Linked DNA regions of Homo sapiens: region 2 is linked to region 1. The links are contacts of gene promoters, found by promoter capture Hi-C in blood cells and fetal thymus (Javierre and others, 2016). All regions are on one chromosome and are shown on one strand. The core of a region is centred on a gene start or on the middle of the fragment in contact, and the rest is flanking DNA. Distances in the headings are between cores, read along the strand shown. Region 1 holds the start of RBCK1 (RANBP2-type and C3HC4-type zinc finger containing 1). Region 2 overlaps CSNK2A1 (casein kinase 2 alpha 1).

What was found. The method cuts DNA at HindIII sites, captures the fragments that hold promoters and counts their contacts. A CHiCAGO score of 5 or more calls a contact.
Region 2: a fragment that was not itself captured here is called in contact with the fragment with the promoter of RBCK1 in region 1 in 1 of 17 cell types (activated CD4 T cells); the score reaches 5.7 in activated CD4 T cells.

The regions. Positions count from the first base shown.
Region 1 is chr20:404,745-411,291 of GRCh38, forward strand. RBCK1 (RANBP2-type and C3HC4-type zinc finger containing 1) reads left to right here and starts at 3,555. Exons shown (of 12, transcript NM_031229.4): 1 at 3,555-4,035; 2 at 5,137-5,281. The coding sequence starts at 4,014. RefSeq lists silencers at 1,273-1,429, 3,253-3,522 and enhancers at 3,500-4,142, 4,093-4,142, 4,143-4,783, 4,193-4,292, 4,353-4,452 and 1 more. The HindIII fragment of the contact is 13,745 bases long and covers 1-6,547 here.
Region 2 is chr20:476,859-483,405 of GRCh38, forward strand. CSNK2A1 (casein kinase 2 alpha 1) reads right to left here. Exons shown (of 14, transcript NM_177559.3): 14 at 1-6,547. Among named protein-coding and RNA genes, the nearest start is that of TBC1D20, 18 kb to the left of the region's middle. The HindIII fragment of the contact is 4,393 bases long and covers 1,725-6,117 here.

The DNA of each region.
Region 1 (6,547 bases), core at 2,305-4,804:
ACTGCGTTTAAATAAATAAATAACCTAGAAACATTGCCAAAGTATAGAAAATTATATCACATGACAACAAATTTTAAAATAACCTAACAGAACTTCTAAAATAAAATAATACAATAATCAAAATTTTTAGGCCAGGCACAGTGGCTCACACCTGTAATCCCAGCACTTTGGGAAGCCGAAGTGGGTGGATCACTTGAGGTCAGGAGTTCGAGACCAGCCTGGCCAACATGGTGAAACCCTGTCTCTACTAAAAATACAAAAAATTAGCCAGGAGTGGTGGCAGACACCTGTAATCCCAGCTACTCAGGAGGCTGAGGCAGGAGAATCACCTGAACCCGGGAGGCAGAGGTTGCAGTGAGCTAAGATCGTGCCATTTGCACTCCAGCCTGGGCAACAAGAGTGAAACTCTGTCACACACACACACACACACACACACACACACAAATTAAATTTAAAAGATGGGCTAAACAGCAAACTAGATATGGCTAAAGAGGGAATTAGTGAGACAGAAATCAGACACCAATCACAGATTCAAGAAACTCCATAAATTTTACACATAGACACATCATAGTAAAAGTGCAAAAAGCCAAAGATTTTTTTTAAAAAACTCTTAAAAGCACTCAGAGGAAAAGAATCAGAGATTCTAAAAACAAAAAACAAAACAAAACAAAAAAACCCCAAAACAACAACAACAAAAAACAAACAAAAAACCAGTACTACAACATGGATAAACCTCAAAAACGTTATGTCAAGAAAAACCCCAAAGTTATGCCAAGTGAAAGAAGCCAGTCACAAAGGTTCACATATTGTCAAAATCTAATTTTCTTTTTGAGACAGGGTCTCACTCTGTCACCCAGGCTGGAGTGCAGTGGGACGATCACTGCTCTACAGGTGCACGCCATCACACTCGGCTAATTTTTGTATTTTTTGTAGAGATGGGGTTTCACCATGTTGCCCAGGCTGGTCTTGAATTCCTGGGCTCAAGCGATCCACCTGGCTTGGCCTCCCCAAGTGCTGGGATTACTGGCATGAGCCACTGTGGCCCATCAGTAAGATCTAATTTCTATAAAATATCAAGAAGAGGAAAGTCTATAGAGACATAAAGTATATTAGTGCTGTCAGTTGGAGGATGGGAAACAGGGAATGTCTGCTAATGAGTACAGGTCTATTTTGGGGTGATAAGAATGTTCTTTCTTTCTTTTTTTTTTTTTGGTCTGAGACAGAGTCTCGCTCTATCACGCAGGCTGGAGTACAACGGTGCGATCTCAGCTCACTGCAACCTCTGCCTCCCAGGTTCAAGCCATTCTCATGCCTCAGGCTCTGCAGTAGCTAGGATTACAGATGTCCGCCACCACACCTGGCTAATTTTTGTATTTTTAGTAGAGACAGGGTTTCACCATGTTGGCCAGGCTGGTCTCGAACTCCTGACCTCAAGTGATCCGCCCACCTCGGCCTCTCAAAGTGCTGGGATTGTAGGTGTGAGCCACCATGCTCAGCCAAAAATGTCCTAAAATTTGATTGTGATGATGGGTGTACAATTCTGTAAATGTTACTAAAAACTATTGAATTGTATATTTTAGGTGGGTGGATTTTATGGCATATAAATTATATCTCAATAAAGCTGTTTATAAAAAGAACAGCAGTTAGATTGACAGGTGATGATATCTCAATAAAGCTGTTTATAAAAAGAACAGCAGTTAGATTGACAGGTGATGATATCTCAACAGCAACCATTTCCCAGCATTTTGGGAGGCCGAGGTGGGCAGATCATTTGAGCCCAGGAGTTCAAGACCAGCCTGGGCAACATGACCAAACCCTGTCTCTACAAAAATTAGCCAGCTGTGGTGGCACGTGCCCGTGGTTTGCAGCTACTCGGGAAGCTGAGCCCAGGAGTTGGAGGCTGTAGTGAGCCATGATCACGCCACTGCACTCCAGCCTGGGCAACAAGAGTGAAACTCCATCTCAAAAAAAAAAAAAAAAAAAAAAAAGGCTTCCCCAGGCCATTCAAATGTACAGCCAAAGTTAAGAAACATTGTCTAAAGGGATGTGTTTCCGGCAAAAGAAAAATTATCCCAGATGAAGGTCTGAGGTTCATTCCTTCATTCAACATATGGAGCCTCCATTATGTGTTTGGAACTGTTCTAGACACCAGGAACACAGCAGTGAGCAAAACAAACCAAAGTCCCTGCCCTCTAGGAGAGGAAAACAGACCCAGAATAACATAAATAAGTAAAACATGCTCCGTTAGACAGTAATAGATGCTGAGAAGAAAAAATGAAGCCAGGAAAGCGGATGTGAAATGCTGGATACGTGTGTCTGTGAAATTTCAGATGGAGTAACTAGGGAAGATTTTTGGGTAAAGACCAAAATAAAGGGAAGGAGGGAGCCATGCAGACGTTTGGGTTATGGCAGGTGCAAAGGCCTTAGGGCGGGAGTGTGTCTGACTTACTCCAGGACCCAGCAGGTCAATGGGACTTGAGTGGAATGAGGCAGGGGCAGGGCAGTCAGCTACGAAGACAGAGATCGGGAGGCAATTTGCGAGCCCTGGGACAGATCTCGGATTTTGCTTTAAGTGAGATGGGAGTACTTGGGTCGGGGAGTGGCATGGGTTTGATTTACATTTTAACAGGACTCTCCGGCAGCTAGGTGGAAATGGACGGTAGGGGGCAAAAAGAGAAGCAAGGAGGCCCAGGAGGAGGCTGGTTCAAGACCCCTGAGATGATGGAGCACTGATGGAGCTGGAGCGGGATGGGGCCGGAGGAGGTGAGGGATGAGATTCTGCAAGTGGAGCCCGCAGGATCTGCTGATCGATGGGACGAGGAACGGGAGAAAAATTAAAGCGGCGCATGAGGCAGACGAATGCAAACTTCACCAATAGCTCAACGAAAAGACAGACGGTGACCGCTGAGAGGCAGCGTCGGATCTGGGTAAGGGCGGGTTCCTGAGCCTGCCAGGCCTGGATTCAAACCTCGGCTGAGTGGCCTTGGACAGGTCATCAACAAACAGAGCCTTCGTTTATTCATGTGCAAACGGGGCCAAGGACCGGGCCTGCCCCGAGGTATGCCTGAGGCTTGGGTGAGCAGGCGCCGGGCTCGCAGGGCGCGCTCCTAACCCGTCCCCAGCGGCTCGACGCTGTGGATCCCGCCGCCCTCCAGCCCCGGCTCCGGCGCCGACTCCTGCTCAGGCTCCTGCTCCTGCCCCCGGCCCCGCCCCCGGCCCCGGCCCCGGCCCCCGGCCCACCCCGGCCCCGCCCCCAGCCCCCGGCCCCCCCGGCCCCGCCCCCGGCCCCGCCCCGGCCCCGCCCACCCCGCCTGCGGCCCAGCTCCTTCCCGCGGCTCTGCGATGCGGCCCGCAGGGTGACCCGGGCGGGAGTCCGGGGACCCGCGATCAGCCCCGGAGGACGGGGTGGGGTCGCCCCAAACAGGAGCGCCGGGACCGCTGGGACCCCGCACTCGGCGTCCGCCGCCGCCGGGTAGCCGGGCAGTGGAGGTCCCGGATGAGGCGACAATTTTTCCGGCCCCCCCTCCCAGTCCCGCCCCACTTCCGGGGCCGCCACTTTCACTTTCTCTTCCGCCGAAGCCGCTCCCCTTGCGAAGAACTGGGGCCTCCCGGGAGGAGAGAGGGCTTTGCCTTGAAACCCGGGACGCCAGGGGCGCTCCCGCAAGTGGGGGTCCTCCGGGACTTGGAACGCCCCGGCTGGGTGGTGTCCGGGCGTCCTTTCCCCGCTTCTTCCCACCTCGGCTGGTCCCGTTTCCTCCTGCGCCCAGTGCGGACCTGTCTCGGCGCCCGCTGCCCTCTCACCGCCCCACGCAGGATCCCGGCCTGGTCACCGGGCAGTGTGATGCTTCCCGACTGCCGCGGGGACAGCGAGGCACACACAGGGCTTGGGCCGCGCCGGAGGCCACACGGCCTGGCTGAGTTGCTCCTGGTCTCCCGCCTCTCCCAGGCGACCCGGAGGTAGCATTTCCCAGGAGGCACGGTCCCCCCCAGGGGGATGGGCACAGCCACGCCAGATGGACGAGAAGACCAAGAAAGGTGGGCACAGGCTGGAGGTGGCTGGGGAACTTCCGGTGGGAAGTGGGCCCCGCAGGACCTGGCCTTGCCCCTGGCCAGAAGGGCCTTGGAGAGGGGGCTTTAGCCTGCCCTCCCTCTACCCTCCTCCCCATCAGTTTCCTCCTTTGGTACCTGCTGGCTTCCAGAGCCATCTTGGGGCCCTGAGAACTCCTTGGGCTGGCTCTGTGCTGAGATGGGGCTAGGGGACTCGCAGAGGACACAGGGCATTGAACTTGGAGACCTCCTGGGCTGGTGGGAGACAGACGTCAGTTGACCTGAGAAGCAGGGGTACTTGCCTCTTCTCTTGTCCCCTGCACCTAGGGTTGTAGAACGGAAGTCAGTCACTGCCTTGCTGGAAACCCTCCCATGCCCCTCTGTGTTCTCCAAACAAAACCCAGAGGCCCTGGGTGGCCCACAGGATATCTGTCCTCAGTCACCCCGCCATGCTCACTCTACTGGAGCCCCACTGGCTTCCTTCGGTTCTCATCCAACCATTTTTTGGCCAAGGCCCTTACTCTTCCTTCCACCTGGACCACTCTTCCCCACTGGAGCTTGACACGTGCAGCTTCTCCTCCTTCAGGTCTTAGCTTCAGTGTTACCCCCTCCCAGAGGCCTCCCCTGGTCTCCTTAACCTGTTTATTTCCCTGCCAGCAAGGATCGCAATCTGACTTTTTTTTTTTTTCTTGTTAAACTTGTTCATTGTCTCCCCACTGGGCAGGGAGATCCATAAGGAGAGGGGCCCTGTTTATAAATCTCTGTGGGATTCCAGTTCCTGGGACAGTGGGTGGCACACAGTAGAAGCTCAATAACTGCTTGTTGGATAAATGAATAGAAATATGAGGGACCCTGGGAATGGGAAGGACAAACAACCAAATGAGCCTAGTGTGAGGAGGAGTGGGGAATATTAGAGAACCCCTCCCGGAGAAAGGGACTTTTAGTCTGGGTGCTGAAGGATACGTAGGAGTTCACCAGGAAGACAGAGAAAGCAGCACACACAAAGGATCGCCTCCTTTCCTACCCCATTACTCTCAGCTCCTGAAAATAAACCCTGTGCTAACTGGCTCCTGCTGTACTGGCTTTCAGCAGAGGAAATGGCCCTGAGCCTCACCCGAGCAGTGGCGGGCGGGGATGAACAGGTGGCAATGAAGTGTGCCATCTGGCTGGCAGAGCAACGGGTGCCCCTGAGTGTGCAACTGAAGCCTGAGGTCTCCCCAACGCAGGACATCAGGTGAGGAGTGCATGGCTGGCCTGAACCCAAGGGACAGCAGGACAGGATATTCTTGCCTGTAGAACAGTTCTTCCTAATGGCACGTTCTGGCTTCAGGAGGCCTGGCTTCTAACCCTAGTTATGTCATTAATCAACTGTGAAATACAGAGCAGGTCACTTCACCTCTCAGTGTGTCCTCATTTTAAAAATCAGACCGTAACAGTAGCTATCTCATAGGGTTGTTAGGAGGTGTACTGTATTAGGATGTTAGGCCTTATACAACAGAAGAAAACGGAACAGTGACGTAAACAAATTTGATGGCAGGGAGTCCAGATAGGGAGGTTCTGCTCCCGACAGTCCTCAGAGGCTCATATTGTTTCTCTCACCATTCTGCCATTCATTCCCAGATTCCTCATGGTGCAAAATGGCCATTCCAGCTCCATCCAGCCATCACATCACAGGAGGAAGGGAAGAAAGACACCCCTCCACACTCTTCTAAAGAGCATAGCTCAAAAATTGTACACACTTCTTCCGTTAATTCCTGTGGACCAGAACTGATTCCCACAGCTACAGTTCAGCTTGAGGGGAGACTGTATAGCCAAGATATTCAGCTAGAATTCAGGGGTTCGCTTGGTAAGGGAAGGGAAGAGAATGGATACTGTCGGTCTGTGCTCCAGGAGACTTAAACTCAATGCTGAAACACTTTGCACAATGCCTGGCGTGTTATGCACTCAATAATAAACATTAGTGTCTATCGTTATTTTTTGACTGCTTTTTCATTACTGGATAGTAAGGCAATAGTTTTATGGTTTCTGATTTTTGGTTCTCTTGGTGGGTCCCATTTGGTTTTTCTTAAAACAGTTTTATTTATTTATTTATCCTTACAGTTCGACCATTTAAAGTATACAGTTCAATGGCTTTTAGTATATTCAAGGTTGTGCAACCATTGCCACAATCAATTTTAGAACATTTTCATCATCCTGTAAAGAAACCTGGTACTCATTAGCAGCCAGTCCTCATCTCTCTACCTTTTCCCTAACTCCCCAACCTTAGGCAACCACTAATCTACTTTTTATCTCTAGGGATCTACCTTCTGGAAATTCCATATAAGTTGAATCATGCAATATGTGGCCTTTTGTATCTGGCTTCTTTCACTTAGGATCGTTTTCGAGATTCATCCATGTTGTAGCATGTCTAACAACTTCATTCCCCTTTTTTTTTTTGACATGGGGTCTCTTGTCTAGGTTGAAGTGCAGTGGTGCCATCATCGCTCACTACAGCCTCAAC
Region 2 (6,547 bases), core at 2,671-5,170, 72 kb after region 1:
CTGCACCCAGCCTGTTAAATCTTTTTTTCAATTAATAACAACTTCTTTTACAGACAGGGTCTCACTCTGTTGCTCAGTCTGGGGTGCAGTGGCACTATCATAGCTCACTGCAGCCTTGAACCCCTGGGCTCAAGTGATCCTCCTGCCTCAGCCTCCAGAGTAGCTAGCACTACAGGCATGTGCCACCACATCCAGCTAATTTTTAATTTTGGTAGAGACAGGGTCTCCCTATGTTGCCCAGGCTGGTCTCCAACTCGTGGCCTCAAGCAATCCTCCTGCCTCAGCCTCCCAAAGAGCTGAGATTACAGGCATGAGCCACCACGCCCAGCTTCTGTGACTTTAAAAAAATCTTTTTAGACAGGGTCTTGCTCTGTCACTTGGGCTTGAGTACTGTGGCACAATCACACCTCACTGCAGCCTTGACTTCTTGGGCTCAGGCAATTAATTCTCGTCCTTTGGCCTCCCCAGTAGCTAGGACACAGGCGCACACCACCACACTCAGCTAATCTATTTTTTGTAGAGGTGGGTTTTCGCCATGTTGTCCAGGCTGGTCTGGGACTCCCGGCTCCCAAAGTGTTCCAACCACAGGTGTGTGGGCCTTCCGTGGTATCTTAACCTCATCACCCAGAGGCAACAACAGCTAGTATTCTTCTAGTTTTTACCACCCCCACCACCTCAATCCTGCCCCTGTAGCCTTTCCAAGTGCCACAGCATTGTTTCAGTTTCTATCTTAGAAAGCCCGGGAGTCTGTGTCCTATCTCCCTGGGGGCATTCAAACCCTAGTCCATAGCCTGAGGCCCACCTATACCCAGACCCAGTGTCTTGGAAGCACTGACTTTAATACCCACTTAGGCTGGGCGCAGTGGCTCACGCCTGTAATCCCACCACTTTGGGAGGCTTGGGCGGGCGGATCACCTGAGGTCGGGAGTTCGAGACCAGCCTGACCAACATGGAGAAACCCCGTCTCTACTAAAAATACAAAATTAGCTGGGCGTGGTGGTGCATGTAATCCCATGCCTGTCTCAAAAACAAAACAAACAAACAAAACAAAACAAAACAAAAAAACCCCAGTTACATTCAGGATGAATTCTGCCTTCCTTTTTGCCACCTTGGGATTTCCATTTCTTTCTCTGAAATAGGCATTTGCATTTTTCCTAGGATTTTTTTTTTAAAACAGTTGGAATTATCCCATATACACAATTTTTTCACTTTTCTAATTAACATACATTTCCCCATGGGCTTGTGTCTCACCTCTCAATCCCCAGTGTATAGCAAAGACCAGGCTCAGGGGCACTTACAAATGTTTGTTGAAACCAAAGACATCCTATATTACAGAAATGAACTTTGGAAAGACCAGTCAGCGTGGGTGGGTGAGGAATGCCAGAGACGGGAGAACAAAATGAGGTATACCGTCAGGTTTGAAGGGTTGAGGGTTATGGAGGGTTCTTCATAGGAAGTTCACCATGGAGTTCTTGGAACTGTTCAACACACAGAAGCAAGGTCCTCTCCTTCTAGGTATGGCTAGAAATGTTTATCAATAGCTGAGACTCTGATTCCCAGGGTGGGATCAGGAAGCCAGCCCCAGCTGCTGCAGCATTTTTTTCCCTTTTTCTCATTACAGGAGCCAAGAAAACTGTCAAAGCAGATGATGCAAGAGTGAAGCTGACTCAGAAATACTCAATCCCCCCAGGAACTTCTCTAAGAAATGGACTGACCATCCTGTAAGCTTCCATCTGGAGGTACCTGGGGAAGGGCTTCTCACATTGAGGCCAATAAGAATCCCTAGTGGGCCAGGTGTGGTGGCTCATGCCTCTAATCTCAGCACTTTGGGAGGCCAAGGCGGGTAGACTGTTGAGCTCAGGAGTTCAAGACCAGCCTGGGCAACACGGCAAAACTTCATCTCTACCAAAAAAAAAAAAAAAAAAATTAGCCAAGCATGATGGCTCGTGCCTGTAGTCCCTGGAAGGCTGAGTTGGGAGGATCACCTGAGCCTGGGAGGTTGAGGCTGCAGTGAGCTGTGATGGCGCTACTGCACTCTAGCCTGGGTAACAGAGCAAGACCCGTATCAAAAAACAAAACAAACAAAAAACTTCTAGTGAGTAGAGCGACAGGGAGACAAATCCAGTTTGTAATTTGCTACAGTGCAAAATATCTGGCTTTCCATAGAGGGAGTGGGAACAAGGCAATGCTGGCCTTCATTCAATCAGAAACTTGACTTGTACCCGTTGAAAACCTGTCATGTTTAATGCTTGGATATTTTTTCTTCTAGTAAAGACACTTTACTGCCACCTGCTGGAAAAGAGTCAGAAATTTTCCAAATGCAAACATCTATGGCCTCCCTATAATGTAGCATCCTTTTACTGTACATAGTCTGCACAACTGTACAATTTAGAAGAGAAACCAACATTTGGTGTAACTCTACCATATACCAGGCATCTGTCATAGAATCTGAACAACCGCTCTATGAAATCAGTACTTATACCCCAATTTAACAGATAGGAAATATTGGGACCTCTGGGGAAGGGAGGAAGAAGAGGGTATCACCAAAAAAGGGCAAAAAGGGGGCTTGGTCTGTATTGGCAATGGAAATTCAACTTGGGTGGTAGGATTATGGATGTGTTACAGCTTTCTTTATAATTTGGTACATGCCTAAAATGTTTTACAATAACAATTTAAATCACCTGTGAAGAAAAGATTCAGAGAGGTTAACTGATCAAAAAAATCACACTGCCAGACAGAACTCTGTTAGAGGTAGACCACTTGCAGTAACATTACATTGCTTCTCTAATGGTTAAATTTAGCACAGAATCAAAGGAGAGCTATAAAGTCTAGGAAGTACTTATTTACATAGGATTGAGTCCAGAACATCTTGTGACACCATCTACATATGTTTTACTTGGAGAATAGTCTGAATTTCGTATTACACGTTGAGCATTTCTAATTTGAAAATACAAAATCCTCAAAAATCTGAAATTTTTTAAGCATCAACATGATGCCTAAAGTAAATGCTATTTGGAATATTTCAAATTTCAGATTAGGAATATTGAACTGGTATGTATTCCGCAAATATTCCAAAAATCCAAAAAAATTCAAAACACTTCTGGTCCCAACCATTTTGGATAGGGGATATTCAACCTATATTACACACAGGTAATACAGCAGGGGAAAAGCAGGGAGACTGCAGCATCTAAGTCTACTAAATTGGCCAGGATCATTCCTTAGTCTTCAGATACCTATTTATCAGGGTCTCATTAAATAAAGTTACTTGTCATGTTAGTTCAGTCTGGCCTGTGGCTTGTAATTATAGCTGCAAACTCAAGGGCAAAGTTCTTAGGATTTTGAGATGCTCTTTATGCAACAATACTTCCATTTACTTTGTGTGTGTGTGTGTGTGTGTGTGGGTGGGTGGGTGTGTGTGTGTAGGGAGAGAAAGGGGGCAATGGAGTGGAGAGTGGAACTACAATTTATTAAGCACCTATTATTACAAGCCAAGTAGGGTGTTAAATATTTTCCTCGTGCCATTCCATTCAATACTCTTCGATCCTGAGGGAAAACGAACCCACTTAAAAAAAAAAACAAAAGGTTTTAATGAGGATTGCATAAGACATGCAAGGTCACCAGGGAGTTTACATGCAAGTGGGGAGATACAAAATAATACAACAAAAGTTCAGGTGTTCTGAGGAAAAAGAAGGGCAAGGGTAAGTGATGACAGTGGGGGAAGTCGGATTCAGGATAAACCAATTTTAGACTCATTTTTTGAGGAAGGAACTGAGCATGACCTTACCACACAGCCTTTTTAGTTAAGTGTTTCTTTAACTAGGAAAAGGCCCTGGGAAGACAGGCTCTCTACTATGCAAACCCAATTCCAGTCTTGGGAGAGAATTTGCTGGTGGGACAAAATCAGGTTTTTCAAGAGATGCTTAAATGGTCAATTCTAATTATAACCATACTTGTCAAAAGGTGAAGCAAAGATGAAAGTTAAAAACTAAGAAGAAATTAAAATTCCCAAATCTGTCAACCAATCTCTAATTTTCTCTGCTACTTTAGGACTATAGTAATTAGCCATACCCTGAGGATCTACTTTACAAGATATATTCCTCTGACAGTCCCACTCTAACAATTTAATCTATCTTATGTAAGCTGGACAGGCATTTCAAGTACAAGAAACAGAATTCAAAACGTGAAAACGGAGCCATCTATCACACACGGTGTCGGTTGGAGAAGCATATTGCTCAGGCTGCAGGGACATTTCATTTATTTAAATGTTTTTATTAAAAAAAATTAAAGACCTTCATGGCACAACTTCTTCCCAGCACAGTTATGGTTTAGTCATACCAATTACAATACAATTACAACCAATAAAGCAAGGTGGGGAGGGCCTTCTGGCTTCAAACTTAAAAAAAAGCAGAGGAAGAGGGGAGGGACCACTTCAAACAAAGTTTAAAAATACTTTAAAAAATCTTTCAGAGTAATTGCCAACATAACCTTTCATGTTGGCCATTCCATTTCCTGCCATCTAAGCAATGCAGACACAGGTAGTGCTGAGAAATAGTGTCCCAATACAAGGTATACAGATGAGGTAATTTACAACAACACGTAAGTTGTTACTCTGTAAACCCTTGCCTCCCCCCCACCCCCCACCCAATTGGGTCTTTTTTTTTTTTCTCTCTCTCCATGCTTCTGCAGTGACTCTTAAGTAGCATTTTTAAAAACTTCTATTTATTTTAAAAGGCTCTTGGGTGGCACCTCAGAGTCCTCTGCATTCACCTTCGGTTTATTCCAAGGTCTGATGGGTGTAAGGAGGTCCAGCTGTCTGCAGCTCTCCGCATCAGCCTAAGCTACACCTCAATTTCCGAGCTACAAGGATAGGGTATGAAGTCTTGATTTACAACCCTCTCCCCACCTCAAAAGAAAGAACTCATTAGTTATAAGTGTCCTGTTCAAATCACAATCCAGTGCAAACATAATCACAAATTGCATCTCTGGCACATCTGGTGCTTTTAGCTTCTGCACAAATTCAACATGGTAACCCTCACAGCATTCTAGGGCATAAAAGGGTCAAGTACAATAAATATCCACTGTAAGTGGTCATAAGGAAGAAAATCACCCTGCCACACAGTCAGAATGTTTTCCCTTCAGCTCTCCCTACCGTTGAGAAGCGCTATAAAAGGAGGCTTTAGCGTCCTCTAAAGTTTACCATTATATTCACTAAAGCCACCACCTTGATAAAGTTACTAAAGCCAAGATGGGTTACAAAGTTAGATAAGTTCATTAAATTCAACTCCCCAAACAATTACGTTTATCTATGATGCCTAGGCGAGAAAGGCCTGTGAATCTATAAGGTAGGAGAATGGGGAACTAAGATTTTAGGCCTTAAAATATGTTGGAAGAATTTTTCCTAGTTCCCACAAGCAGCTACTGTAATGAAATAACAGGAGAAAATACAGAGCTGATGGTTTTGCTATTGTGCTTAAAAAACTAGGCTTCCTCAGTGAAGCACCTGATAAACTTAGGTGGTTGGATTACAGTGGAAAGTCCACTTTACACACACACACAAACACACAAAAACTGGCGACTTTTTCCATCCCCAATCCCTGCACTGCTGAGACACAAAATGAGTTTTATGGCAAAGGATCCTTAATCCCCAGAGACGCTTTGGCTTGTGGTGCTTTTTTTTTAAGGCCTCTCTGCTCTGCCCGGTACCATGGGTCGAACGAGGGGTGTATAAAATGGGGGCCTTGGGAAGCCTCCACGGTACAGGGCTGCAGGCCCCTCAGATGTGAACATGAGACACCCACCCAGCAAGACCTTTACACAGGGAACTTAAATCTAACCTTGATAAATAAAACCAAACGTTTATTTACACCAAAGAATTCCAACACTGGATCTTTCACATATGAAGGACAAAGTATTATATATATACACACAGCAAGGGGTGGCGGGGCTGTAACAAGAGAGTTTATAGTTTTCCCACAATTACAGGTCTACCATTTCAGCTTCAATGGAGATAGTGGCTCTGCTCCTACCTCTCAAGATACATTTACAAGACTGAGGAGCAGGTCTTCTCACTGGATGGCATGTGAGGGAAGGGGACGGTCGGAGGAAAAGAAGGTAGAAAGCTTAAAATGGAAGTCAGTGTGGCCACATCTCCCATTAGCTCTAGCATGAAACCTGTACAGACAATGTTTGTTTCTTTTGTAAAAAGCAGTAAGTTATGCCCAGTAACTAAATGAATTCAAAATGGCCAAGACAAAGAAAACTAAGAAAGATTTTGCCTTCCCTCTCCTACCAGCTATGGAGCACAGCATGTTGGGAGATGAACAGGGAAAAGACCAAGGTAAGGAGCCTGGGAGGGAAGGTATCAACATTTTAAACTGAACTAAAAATAAAAGTATAAATGAGTTGGATTTAGGGTTAGATCAGTAAGACATGATTCTTACTGAACAGAAGTTTTTAGTATCTGTCTGCATTTTGGGTAGATTTTCAACATCTTGATGTAACTAAGACACACTTCCACAAGAGCCACTAGGATAACCCCACTGAAGCG